Linked DNA regions of Homo sapiens: region 1 is linked to region 2. The links are contacts of gene promoters, found by promoter capture Hi-C in blood cells and fetal thymus (Javierre and others, 2016). All regions are on one chromosome and are shown on one strand. The core of a region is centred on a gene start or on the middle of the fragment in contact, and the rest is flanking DNA. Distances in the headings are between cores, read along the strand shown.

Region 1 (5,249 bases), core at 693-3,192, 330 kb after region 2:
GCCAGGCCACCACGCACTTGGTGGCACCCTGGTCCATGGTGACGGTGGAGTAGAAGCACTGAGGGGAGGCCAGGGCGAGAGCCACCAGCCAGATGCCAGCAATAACCGCCTTGGTGCTGGGAGCTGAAAGCCGAGGCTGGAAGGGGTGGACGATGGCCATGTACCTGTGAGCAGAGGGCAGCTTGAGCGGCAGGGGCCCTCCTGTTAGCCCAGCTCCCTTTCCCCTGTCTCCCTCTCTCCCAACCCAGGCCCACGCCTTCTAGCCATTCCCCGCACTGCTGCCATCTGCTGATATCATAGTATCAGCCGACCTGCAGAGAGCCCGCTGGGTGACTCTCCCACAGCCACACAGCACACTGATGCCTTGGAACCCCGGCCCAGGCACCTCGGCCCACCATTTCCCTCTGGGCATGGACATGCCCGTGGACGGCCACAAGAAAGCCACACTGGAAGCCCATCTCAGGGCAAGATCAAGCATCCAACATTAGCCTGAAGCTCAGCCCTGAGCAGCGTTGGGAAAATAATTGGCCCTATTAGATTGTAACTGCAAGCAAACTTAACATTTTCCCCTCGTGTAATCTATCCGGAATAATAAAAAAAAAACTGTATAAGACATATCTTTGGAGTGAAATAAAGACAACAAAACAAAGATCAACTCCAGGAAAGAACACTTCAGAAGGTCGCTAAAACATTGCCCACTTCCCCTACAGACTTGAACAACCTGTCTAGTGCATCTAGTGCAAAGTCCTTCTCTGTGTCTAACCCTCAGTCTACCTTCTTCAGCTCCACAGTCCCCCTGCCTTCCAGATTCATAGTTTTGGACCATGACCAGATTTGGGAAGCCATTCCCATGGTTCTACCCAAACTTGCTGTGTAATCACAGGCATGTCACCACCCTTATCTGAGCCCCGGCTCAGTGGGGAGGCTCCCCCCAGCTTCCCCAAGGACCCTCTTGCCTGTCGGCAGCAATGGCGGTCATGGAGTAGATGCTGACAAACATGGCTGTGATGGGGAAGAGGTTCTGGAAGTAGCAGAAGGCACGGCCAAAGTACCAGATGTTGTGGCTGGCATAGACAAAGTTGAAGGCGGCATTGAAGGCAGCCATGCAGAGGTCAGCCAGCGCCAGATTGACGATGAAGTAGTTGGTGACTGTGCGCATCCTCCGATGGGCCAGGATGATCCAGATGACGATGGCATTACCCGTCACGGCCACCAGCACCAGGGCCAGGTAGGCTGTGGCCCACAGTGCCAGTTGCCAGCTGGGCATGGAGAAGGCTGTGATGCCCGTGGTGTTGCTCTCAGGGCCAGATGAGATATTGGCTTCAGTCACAATGTCACAGGTCCCCATGGCTGCTTCTGGGTCTGGAACAAAGGACCTGGCTCCTCGGCTCCTCTCGGATTTGCTATGAAAGAGAACTCCCCTTCAGAGCATGGGAATATGGGGGCAGGGAGAGGAGCAGATGCCAAGCGTGGTGGCACATCAGGAGAGCCTGGGGCCACTCCTAGGTCTCAGGCAAAGATGAGCTGGGCTGAGCACAAAGCCCAGTCCAGAACCATTGTCATTTCAGATTCCATCCTTCCGGCCAGACTTCTCGAATATCATGTGGAAACACAGAATTCAAATCACAGTGTCAGAGCAGAAAACACCCTTATAAATCAACCCCTTCGCTGAAGAGATGGAAGACAGAGATTCCAAGAGGGGACGGGACCAGCCCAGGTCACTCAGGAAGTTGGTGACAAGTTAGGACTCGAACCCAGGTTTCTCGTCACGTAATTCAGGAAACCTTCCAGATCAGAGGAATGCACAGCGGGAGTCTCTGGAGTCCACAGGTCAATGGCGCAGCAGCCTCTCTCCAGGCTTTGGGCTGCAAGCCGGGCTGGGTGCTGGGTGCTCAGGGCTCTGCCAGCTGCCAGCCCTCGCTGCAGCTTCCCTGCCGTTCTCTGGGGCAGGGCCAGTGGGGGCCTTGGCAGAGGTGCTGCCTGCTCACGAGGGGGGGCTTTGGCTCCCGCCCCTGGTCCCACCCCCTGCTTGGCCTTGTCTCTTGAAAGATTTAGGACTGGCTGCAGAGGCAGGGAGAGACTTGGGGGAGATGGGGCTGGTACAGAGGGCCCAGCTCTCGGCGGATGTTGACTTTCAGCCCAGGACAGGAGCTACGTCTGAAGAGTGATTCTGAATACAGAAGGAGTTCGAGCCTGGTTTGGTGACTCCAGGCAAGTCTCTTAACCTTTCTGAGCTCTGTCTACCCCATCTGAAAAATATAGAAAAATGGTGTGCATCTTACAGTACATTTGTGAATTTTAAATGGAGATAATGTGCACAAAGTCTACTTAGCACAGGGGTTGGTACATAAAAACTATGATTGGAGTTTCTGGCCCGAAGGGAGGACCCCACAGCTCTGGGCGCTCTAGGAGGAGAAGCCAGAACCCGGAGCGTTTCCAGCGAGTTCCCAGGTGATACTGATGCTGCTGGAGCCAGCACTTCACTTTGAGAACCACTGTCTTAGGACAAAGTCAGGGCTCTTCCGGGAACCACAGCAAAGCTGGAGTTTTAACTCCTGAGAAGCTGCTCTAGGTTTGCCCCAAGATCCCTGCTCCTGGTCATTGACTGTGTGCACGTGTGTGAAGCAGTGAAGATGTTTCTGAGCAACTGTATGTGCGGCTGACGTGTTAAGCTCACACACACGCATGAACCTGTGCACACCTGTGGTGTGTGGACCATGAAGGCAGGGCAGGATTAGCGGGAGTCGGGGGGGCATGTTCTTCATTAAAGCAGAGGAGGCTTCTCATTCACCAGCAACCCACGGCACAGCAGCCTCTGTGCTCCCAGGGCTCTGCCTTGCACCGCCTGGGTTTCTCGTGGCTGGGCCTCGGCCCCCACACTCCCAGTCCATTTTCTGCTTCTCCCTGTGTGTCACTTTCCTGACACCCAGCCCTTGTCTCCCGGGGTGAGCTGAGAAAGACCTTTAAAGGTCTCTAGTGCTGAAAAGATTATGCCACCCATGGAATCCAATATAAAAACAACACTAAACCATAAGTCATGAAACTTAAACATGCTGAAATTGAAAGAGCTTCTTTATGGATTTTTCTGATTATGAACTTCTGGGTAAGTTCATCGACAATCAACACTGAAATTGTATCTATTGTTTGGTCTCCCTGCTGTGCAGATGTGAGGAGCATGTGCTGGGTCGAATGGGAACCCCATCCTTGCCCTTGGGGAGGGAGTGCTTCCTGGGCCCCTACTCCTCCCGTGGGTGTGTGCCTGTGTGCCTGTTTCCTCTCTGGAGTGGCCTGTTTGGACTTTGGACCCTAGCAGAAGGGTCTCTGCCTTTGATCTCTGTTGGTGGCGGCAACAGTAGCAGTACTTTAGGGTTTGCTTCTGTCTCATGCCCATCTGGCCAGGGTCCTAAAGAGCAGAATGTGTAGAAATAAGAATGGAAGCCCAAGACAGCCTGCTCTTTTTGCTGTCCTCCTGCTCCCAGGCAGTGGGAATTTGTTGAGCTTCAGGTGCAAACCCAGTGCAGGGCTGGGATGCCTGAGCGCCTGTCACCAGTCACAGAAGCCCAGCAGAGTTCAAGTTCCTTCCTCCCCACAACATCCCGCCACCTCCACTGTTTATGTAAAGGGGATTATGTTTTGGAGCTTGTACATCTGAGTTTTTATTTTCCCCTTAAATTATCTGCTCTTGCAGCCTTCCAACTATGTGCTATGGTTTGAAGCCTCGTGAAAGGGGAAGATGCGGGCCACCCAGGATGAAGGGGTTCCTGATCAGCTTTGCTGCTTGGCACTGGCCTTCTGAGTCCATAGCTAGACAGCGATCCCGAAGGCCAGTCCTTATTTTATTTTATTATTTTAGATGGAGTCTCACAGTGTCGCCCAGGCTGGAGTGCAATGGCACGATCTTGGCTCACTGCAACCTCCGCCTCCTGGGTTCAAGCGATTCTCCTGCCTCAGCCTCCTAAGTAGCTGGGATTACAGGTGTATGCCACCACACCTGGCTAATTTTTGTATTTTTTTAGTAGACAGGGTTTCACCATGTTGGTCAGGGTGGTCTTGAACTCCTGACCTCAGGTGATCCACCTGCCTCAGCCTCCCAAAGTGCTGGGATTACAGGCATGAGCCACTGCGCCTGGAAGGCCAGTCCTTTTAAAGGAGAAAAAAAAATGCCGGGCACGGTGGCTCACACCTGTAATCGCACACCTGAGCTGATGGTGCCAGTTGCGTGCATCCAGGAAGCAGACCCTGCTGTGTAAGAAACACACCAGCTGTTTCTCAGGGAGCTACCACTGGGGTCAACACTTGGGGCAGCAGACAAGGCAGGAAGCAAGTGTGGCTGAAGCACGGCATCGTGCTGTGGTCCAGGCCTACAATAGCCTTGGTAACCCCATGGGTAATTGGAACTGGGATAGCTTCAGAGTTGCCCCGTGTGGGGCAAAGTTAACCAGGCCTTTATATTTCCACATTGGTCACTGGACGTGGGCCACCCCAAGAAATCATGTGATTGTTGTCAAGGCAGTTGAGGCGAGGCCTGCAGTCGGGGACGCTAAACATGGTGCTGGTACTATATGCCTGCCCGGCAGCTTGAAGGGGGCCTGGGAAGCGCAGGGCAACGTCCACACAGCTAGACAGCAGCCACTCCTTCAGACGGGCGTGCGCTGGCAACTGTGCCTTGCTGGTTGGTGTAATTGTGACCTCTGGGCTAGAGGCTTAAAGACCAGAGTTGGGAGAGGAATGATCTTCCAGGGAGTTTGAGGAAGAAAAGGTGGGAGAGCTGTGGTGTGTGAGAGAAGTGGGTGGGAGAGGAAAGGCGGCTCCAGAAAGCACTGTGGATGAGGCGTTGCTATCAGCGCCTGGGGGATGCTCTTGAGAGTGGCCTATCTCTGTTTGGGAGGCTGCTCTGGGCCCTAGCTTCAGAGGTCACAGACAGCATCGCGGGACACTAGCGCTGAGGGTCACCCTGTCACCAGGGCAATGCTGGGGGTGCCAGGAGGTGGCCGAAGTGAGAGGAGGACGTGGGGTTGGCAAAGGGTCAGCCCCTCTGCTGAAAGGCTCCAGTCCTGTGCCCGGTGGTGGGTCTGACCCTGAGCCGCTGCTCCAGTGATCATCCCAGAGACAGGAGGAAGGATCACATCTGTATTTGCGGGAGCTCCTGGTGGGGCCAAATGAGGACAAGAAGAAGAACACTTTTCATTCTGCTAGATGAATCTGGTTCCATGGACTGTCCTTCATTCCGAGACCATGCCCTTCCTGCT
Region 2 (6,125 bases), core at 2,100-4,599:
CATTTTTTTTTTCTTTTTTTGAGATGGAGTCTTGCTCTGTCACCCAAGCTGGAGTGCAATGGCATGATCTCTGCTCACTGCAACCTCTGCCTCCCAGGTTCAAGCAATTCTCCTGCCTCAGCCTCCTGAGTAGCTGGTATTAGAGGTGCCCGCCATCATGTCCAGATAATTTTTTTGTATTTTTAGTAGAGACAGGGTTTCACCATGTTATCCAGGCTAGTCTCAAACTCCTGACCTTAGGTGAGTGATCCGCCCACCTTGGCCTCCCAAAGTGCTGGTGTGAGCCACCCTGCCCTGCCGGCGACCCGTCACTTTATTAAACAACAGGAACTGATTTCTGTCATGTTCCAGGTGACTGTTAAGGAATAAGAATACTCATTTTATGGGCAAATAAACTGAATGTGAAGTAAAGTAGGTGCATCTCAGGTTGCCTGGTGAAAGAAGGATTAAGTCTGGTATAGGGTTTGTCTTTTAAAATTGTGGAAAACATGCATATCGTAGATTGACTTTTAGGGAAAGATGTGGGTCCTATTGGGTTAATGGCGGAATCTTTTGGTAAGATCATGCCCAGCCCTGAGGACTGTTGCCAATGCCTCCCTCACCACGTGTGCCATGTGCTCTTGAGGACATCCTGTCATTGGCTTCCCACACCATCATTACATCTGGAACAAAGGACGCATAAAAAGTGAGTGGCCCAGCGTGGCTCAGCTGGTAAGTGAAGGGCATGGGCTTGGACCCAGGACTTCCAGCTGCTGCAGCATGTGTCCTGCTCCCCTACAGCTTGAAGAGGGCTAAATGAGACTGGAGGACTTCTTAGAAAAAGAGACTTGATTATCAGCGTAGTGGGAGAAGAGCAAATGCTTATGAATACTGCACCTGTGCTTTAAAAGTCACCATGAGCTGGGCGTTGTGGCTTACGTCTGTAATCCCAGCACTTTGGGAGGCCGAGACAGGTGGATCACTTGAGGTCAGGAGTTCGAGGGCAGCTTGGCCAACATGACAAAAACCCCATCTGTACTAAAAAAAAGAAAAGAAAAGAAAAGAAAAGAAAGAAAGAAAAAAAATTAGTCAAATGCGTTTGCTTGAACCCAGGAGGTGGAGGTACACCCTGGGCGACAGAGAGAGAGAGGTAAAAAACAACAACAACACCATGACCCAGAGAAAGAAAGAAAAAAAATGAAGTTCCCAAATGGAAAAAGCCCCTAAAATTACCATTTTAAAACACAGCCCTAATCAGCTCTGGGGATTTGCAGGAAACTCATCGAAGCTATTGATAGGAACTATTGTTTTGGTGCCAGGGTTTTCAATTGGGAGTTAGATTTAAAAGGACCAAAGATGACATCTGATATTTCAAACAGAAACCGACATTTCTCAGTGGAAAACTTTCCGGGCCAGTGCATTTTGGGGTTGGTTACTGTGCTTGGAGACGCCCCTGAGTTGGAGGACACACTTCTGGCTGATGTGAGGGGCTTCTGAGGAGGGCCAAAATGTACACTCTTTGTGTTCTTGCACCACGGCTATTAGACTGTGAGACTCTGTCCTTAGCAGGAAATGGTAAAGGAATCAGCAGGAAGCCTAAAACAAGGGAAGGGAAACTCCTCCCTCCTATCAAAGGCCAGGCAAGGGCGAGGATGAGAATGGAAAGTGGGGCACGTGCATTAAGCCGTCTGGGGGAGCGGTAGGGATAGACATGTTGAAATGGAGAGTGGTTGAATCTTGAAAGGAAGTAAGGAAAATGTATATGCCACAAGGGCAAGGATGTATGATAGGCTTGTATTTATTGTATAACTTTATTTTATTTTATTTTATTATTTTTAGTTTTTTGAAATAGAGTCTCTCTCTGTCACCCAGGCTGGAGTGCAATGGCACGATCTTGGCTCACTGCAACCTCTGCCTCCCGGGTTCAAGCGATTCTCCTACCCCAGCCTCCCGAGTAGCTGGGACTACAGGCACTCGCCACCACGCCCGGCTAATTTTTTGTATTTTTAGTGGAGACGGGGTTTCACGGTGTTAGCCAGGATGGTCTCGATCTCCTGACCTTGTGATCCACCCACCTCAGCCTCCCAAAGTGCTGGGATTACAGGTGTGGACCACAGCACCTGGCCTTTATTGTATAACTTTAATATGGAGCCTTAGTCCTCCAGAAATCTGCACCATGCCCAGGGAAAATGCTGTTCCTTTATTTACATGAGGCAGAGGTTTGTGTTGTTTGCTGAGGTCCAGCAGCTCACTGTGAGGACAACCTCTCCCTCGTTCCTGATTTCTGGCTTATTCAAGGCCAGAGGACCCAAAACTCGAGTTGAAAATTTTGACTAGGAGAACAGATAAAAATAGAAATGGAATCCATCTTAAGAAATGCTCAATGTGAAGGAGAGGGGAATGCAAAATAGTTTTTCTGTTTTACCACAGTCTTTGTAACTGAAAATCCTATGTTCTTGAGATAGAGAGAGAGCCAATGATCCAATGCAAGAAACTGAGTTTAAGAAGAAACTGTTTGCTGGGCACGGTGGCTCACGCCTGTAATCCCAGCACTTTGGGAGGCTGAGGCAGGCGGATGGCCTGAGGTTGGGAGTTTGAGGCCAGCCTGGCCAACATGGTGACACGTCGTCTCTACTAAAAATACAAAATTAGTCCAGCGCAGTGGTGTACGCCTGTAATCCCAGCTACTCAGGAGGCTGAGGCAGGAGAATTGCTTGAACCCTGGAGATGGAGGTTGCAGTGAGCTGAGATCGCGCCACTGCTCTCCAGCCTGGGTGACAGAGTGAGACTCCATCTCAAAAAAAAAAAAAAAAAAAAAAAAAAGAAGAAAAAGAAGAAGAAGAAACTGTTCATCTGAAATCCGACAACTCATTCTTGAAGGTTAGAGCTCAGCTTTGAAGTTTCACTTCACGAGCTTGGCTCAGTGAGGTATGTTACTCCCCGGTGAAAAAGAAAATGAAGAGAATGTTTTATGTTGAAAGTGCTTGGTGACGAAAAGGCAGCACCTAGATCCCTTATCTCATAAAAAATGCAGCAGATTCTTAATATTAGCAATCTAGTGTTTAGATTGTTACCTGAAGAAAGGAAAAACAAACTGTCCCAAATGCTGATTCTACTGTTTCGGTGGGAAAAAAAAATGTCTTGCAGGCAAGTGGCAAACAACAAAACTTTTGAAAAAGCAGGCCTGGGGGGAGTCCAGTACAGTTTCATAATGGGTATGAATAGTTATTTTACTGTGTTCCCCCCACCCCCTTTCTTTCTGGGTTTTGATGTGGATGTCTTTCTATTTGTTCAGGAAATTGTGACGTGTGTTCTGGGCAGGGTTTGAGGTTTTGGAACATTTTCTAAAAGGGACAGAGAGCACCCTGCTACATTTCCTAATCAAGAAGTTGGCGTGCAGCTGGGAGAGCTAGACTAAGTTGGTCATGATGCAGAAGCTACTCAAATGCAGTCGGCTTGTCCTGGCTCTTGCCCTCATCCTGGTTCTGGAATCCTCAGTTCAAGGTAAGACTCAGGAGTCTTGTTCCCCAGCCATCTTCTCTGTAAGCCCTGTGGTCCATGCAAGTCATTATATTCATTTTAAGGCATAGAATGTATAATATTGTGAGAAAGGAGGCAAAGAAGAAGGATTTGGGGTCGCTGAACCCTTTAATATGAGTTCTGTTAAGTTTGGTACCAAGAAAAATTAAACTCTGTGGCGTGTGCAGTCTTGTAAACTCTTACAATGATTGAAATGTGCTATTTTGGGATGAAAATGTGAGGTTTATAAATTTTAAAAGCTCAAAAAAGGAATCTAGAAAATGACTCCTGTGCCTGTTGCATGGAGGAGATGGCACCTTTGACTGTTGGGGGGTGTCTGCCTACCCCTAAGTGTCTACATCAGCCCCAAGTTTTAGTGCGCTGTGACGGTGTCATTGTTATTTTAACACTGGGAGACGTTATATTCCAATTGGGGTGAATCTGACTGTGTGTATTTTCTTTTCTTTTTTTTTTTTTTAAAGATAAACTTGGTTCTTACTGAAAACTCAATTATGGTTAGACATAGTTCATGTAAAACCTCTCAGATTTTAAAGAGAAGGCCAAATAATTTGGTATTTGTGCTCTTGCTCAGAGAAGCATCATATTCGGAAATATCTTCCTAGGTTTATCTACCATTTAGTGTTGTTTAGTCAGACTGAAACAACTTAAAACCTGTAATGACTAAGACAATGAAAATGATAGGCTTGTAAGAAAAATACAATTTGTTATTCTTTGGCAAATAAGGAATCATGTCTAAATAAGACGGAGGTCATGGCTTGATAGAGAGATGGCTGAACCTATAGTAGAAAAACACTAGGTTCCGCCAAATGGTAAGGGAAATGTTGAGTCACAATGACACACATGTCCTAGATTTGTTTCGTCAAAGCGACTTTTGGTTGTCATGATCTTACTTCCGGTGGAGATGAAATCTTACAGATGATCGCAGAGACATTCATTTTATGTTGGAAATTTATAAAATCATTTTCTTCTAGTTATGCTAATGCTGAAAAAAGAGCAAGTAATGTTTCTGGAACGTTATTAATTTATGTATTTTTAAAATATAAAACATTGTCAATTGTAGGGAACAGGCTTCACTGGGATCTTTTAGGGAATATCTTCAGCTTGATGAAATAATTCCCGAATAGCCAAGTGGTCTGACAAGATCGAGAGTAATGAGGCCCATACTTTAGTACAGTCTTGAATGGCCAGATGGTGCTGGGCATACCCCAACCAGAGATATGTAAGTCTTTATGTTGTCAAAATTTCCCAGAAACATGAATTTCCCACTAAGATTCATTAAGGAAAACTAGAATGAAAACAAAAACGTTCCTTGTATAATATTCATTAGAAAGAAATGAAGAAGGCCGGGCATGGTGGCTCACGCCTGTAATCCCAGCACTTTGAGAGGCCAAGGTAGGCAGATCATGAGGTCAGGAGTTTGAGACCAGCCTGGCCAACATAGTGAAATCCCGTCTCTACCAAAAATACAAAAAAATTAGCCGGGCATGGTGGCACACACCTGTCATCCCAGCTACTCAGGAGGCTGAGGCAGGAGAATTGCTTGAACCTGGGAGGTGGAGGTTGCAGTGAGCTGAGATTGCACCACTGTACTACAGCCTAGGTGACAGTGCAAGACTCTGTCAGAAAGAAAGAAAGAGAGAGAGAGAGAAAGAAAGGAAAGAAAGAAAGAGAAGGAAAGAAAATAATTCATCATGAAATTGTATAGAATACTAGCATTTATGTCATGACCTCGTAGGTTTAGCTCTTTGTTAGAAAAGGAAACCATAGAAAGAGACAAGGGAGAAACTGACAAACTAGGGTGTTTCCGAAAAAAGGCTCTCAGTATCGGGCTCAAGGGCTTGTGCCCACATCTGAGCATGCAGGGAAATAGATGTCCCCCACTGGCTGCACATGTGAGTGACTGCGGCACAAGGCTGTGATGTGAAGAGTCGTGACACCATTTCCTCACACCTCCACGCAATGCCAGATATGATTCGACAACATTCTTCCTGTCTTATAAAAAGTGTTTATCTAGCCCGTTGGTTTGGCAGATGAAATCAACTAGGCTTTTGGCTTGCTTTTACTGAGCATATTCAAAACCATTTCAGGTCACTATAGTGGTTTGCTCGGGTTGCCATAACAAAGTACCACGGACTGAGTGGCTTAAATAACAGAAATGTATTTCCTCACAGTTCTGGAGATGGGAGTCCAAGATCAAGGTGCTGGCAGGGTCGATCGCATTCTGAGGCCTCTCTCCTTGGCTTATAGATGGCGCCTTCTCCCTTGTCTGCACATGGCCTTTCCTCCATGCATCCGTGTCTTAATACCATCTTCTTAGAGGGTCACCAGGCATTGGATCAGGGCCACCCTAATGGCCTCATCTTAACTACCTATATCTGCAATGACCCTATTTCTGAACAATTTCACATTGTGAGATTCTGTGGGTTAGAACTGGAACATATGAATTTGGTGGTGGTATATTTTTATTATAAGTCAAACCCAAGTAAAGATGTGGGGTAAGATTGTGTTTACCAAGCACAAAGAAATGGAAATTTGGGGATGTGTAACTCTGGAGAGCACAGATGACTAATCTATTTAATGTAGGGCTCCAGGGGATTTGATGAGGC

What was found. Contacts are between HindIII fragments. The CHiCAGO score rates a contact against its expected background, and 5 or more counts as called.
Region 1: the fragment with the promoter of TACR2 here is called in contact with the fragment with the promoter of SRGN in region 2 in 3 of 17 cell types (erythroblasts, fetal thymus and M0 macrophages); the score reaches 12.2 in erythroblasts.

Annotation. Positions count from the first base shown.
Region 1 is chr10:69,414,976-69,420,224 of GRCh38, forward strand. It overlaps TACR2 (tachykinin receptor 2), which reads right to left and starts at 1,943. Exons shown (of 5, transcript NM_001057.3): 1 at 957-1,943; 2 at 1-164. The coding sequence starts at 1,348. RefSeq lists enhancers at 1,713-2,447, 3,198-3,492. The HindIII fragment of the contact is 12,893 bases long and covers 1-5,249 here.
Region 2 is chr10:69,084,754-69,090,878 of GRCh38, forward strand. It overlaps SRGN (serglycin), which reads left to right and starts at 3,350. Exons shown (of 3, transcript NM_002727.4): 1 at 3,350-3,483. The coding sequence starts at 3,405. RefSeq lists enhancers at 1,664-1,833, 3,481-4,680 and a silencer at 5,379-5,558. The HindIII fragment of the contact is 21,371 bases long and covers 1-6,125 here.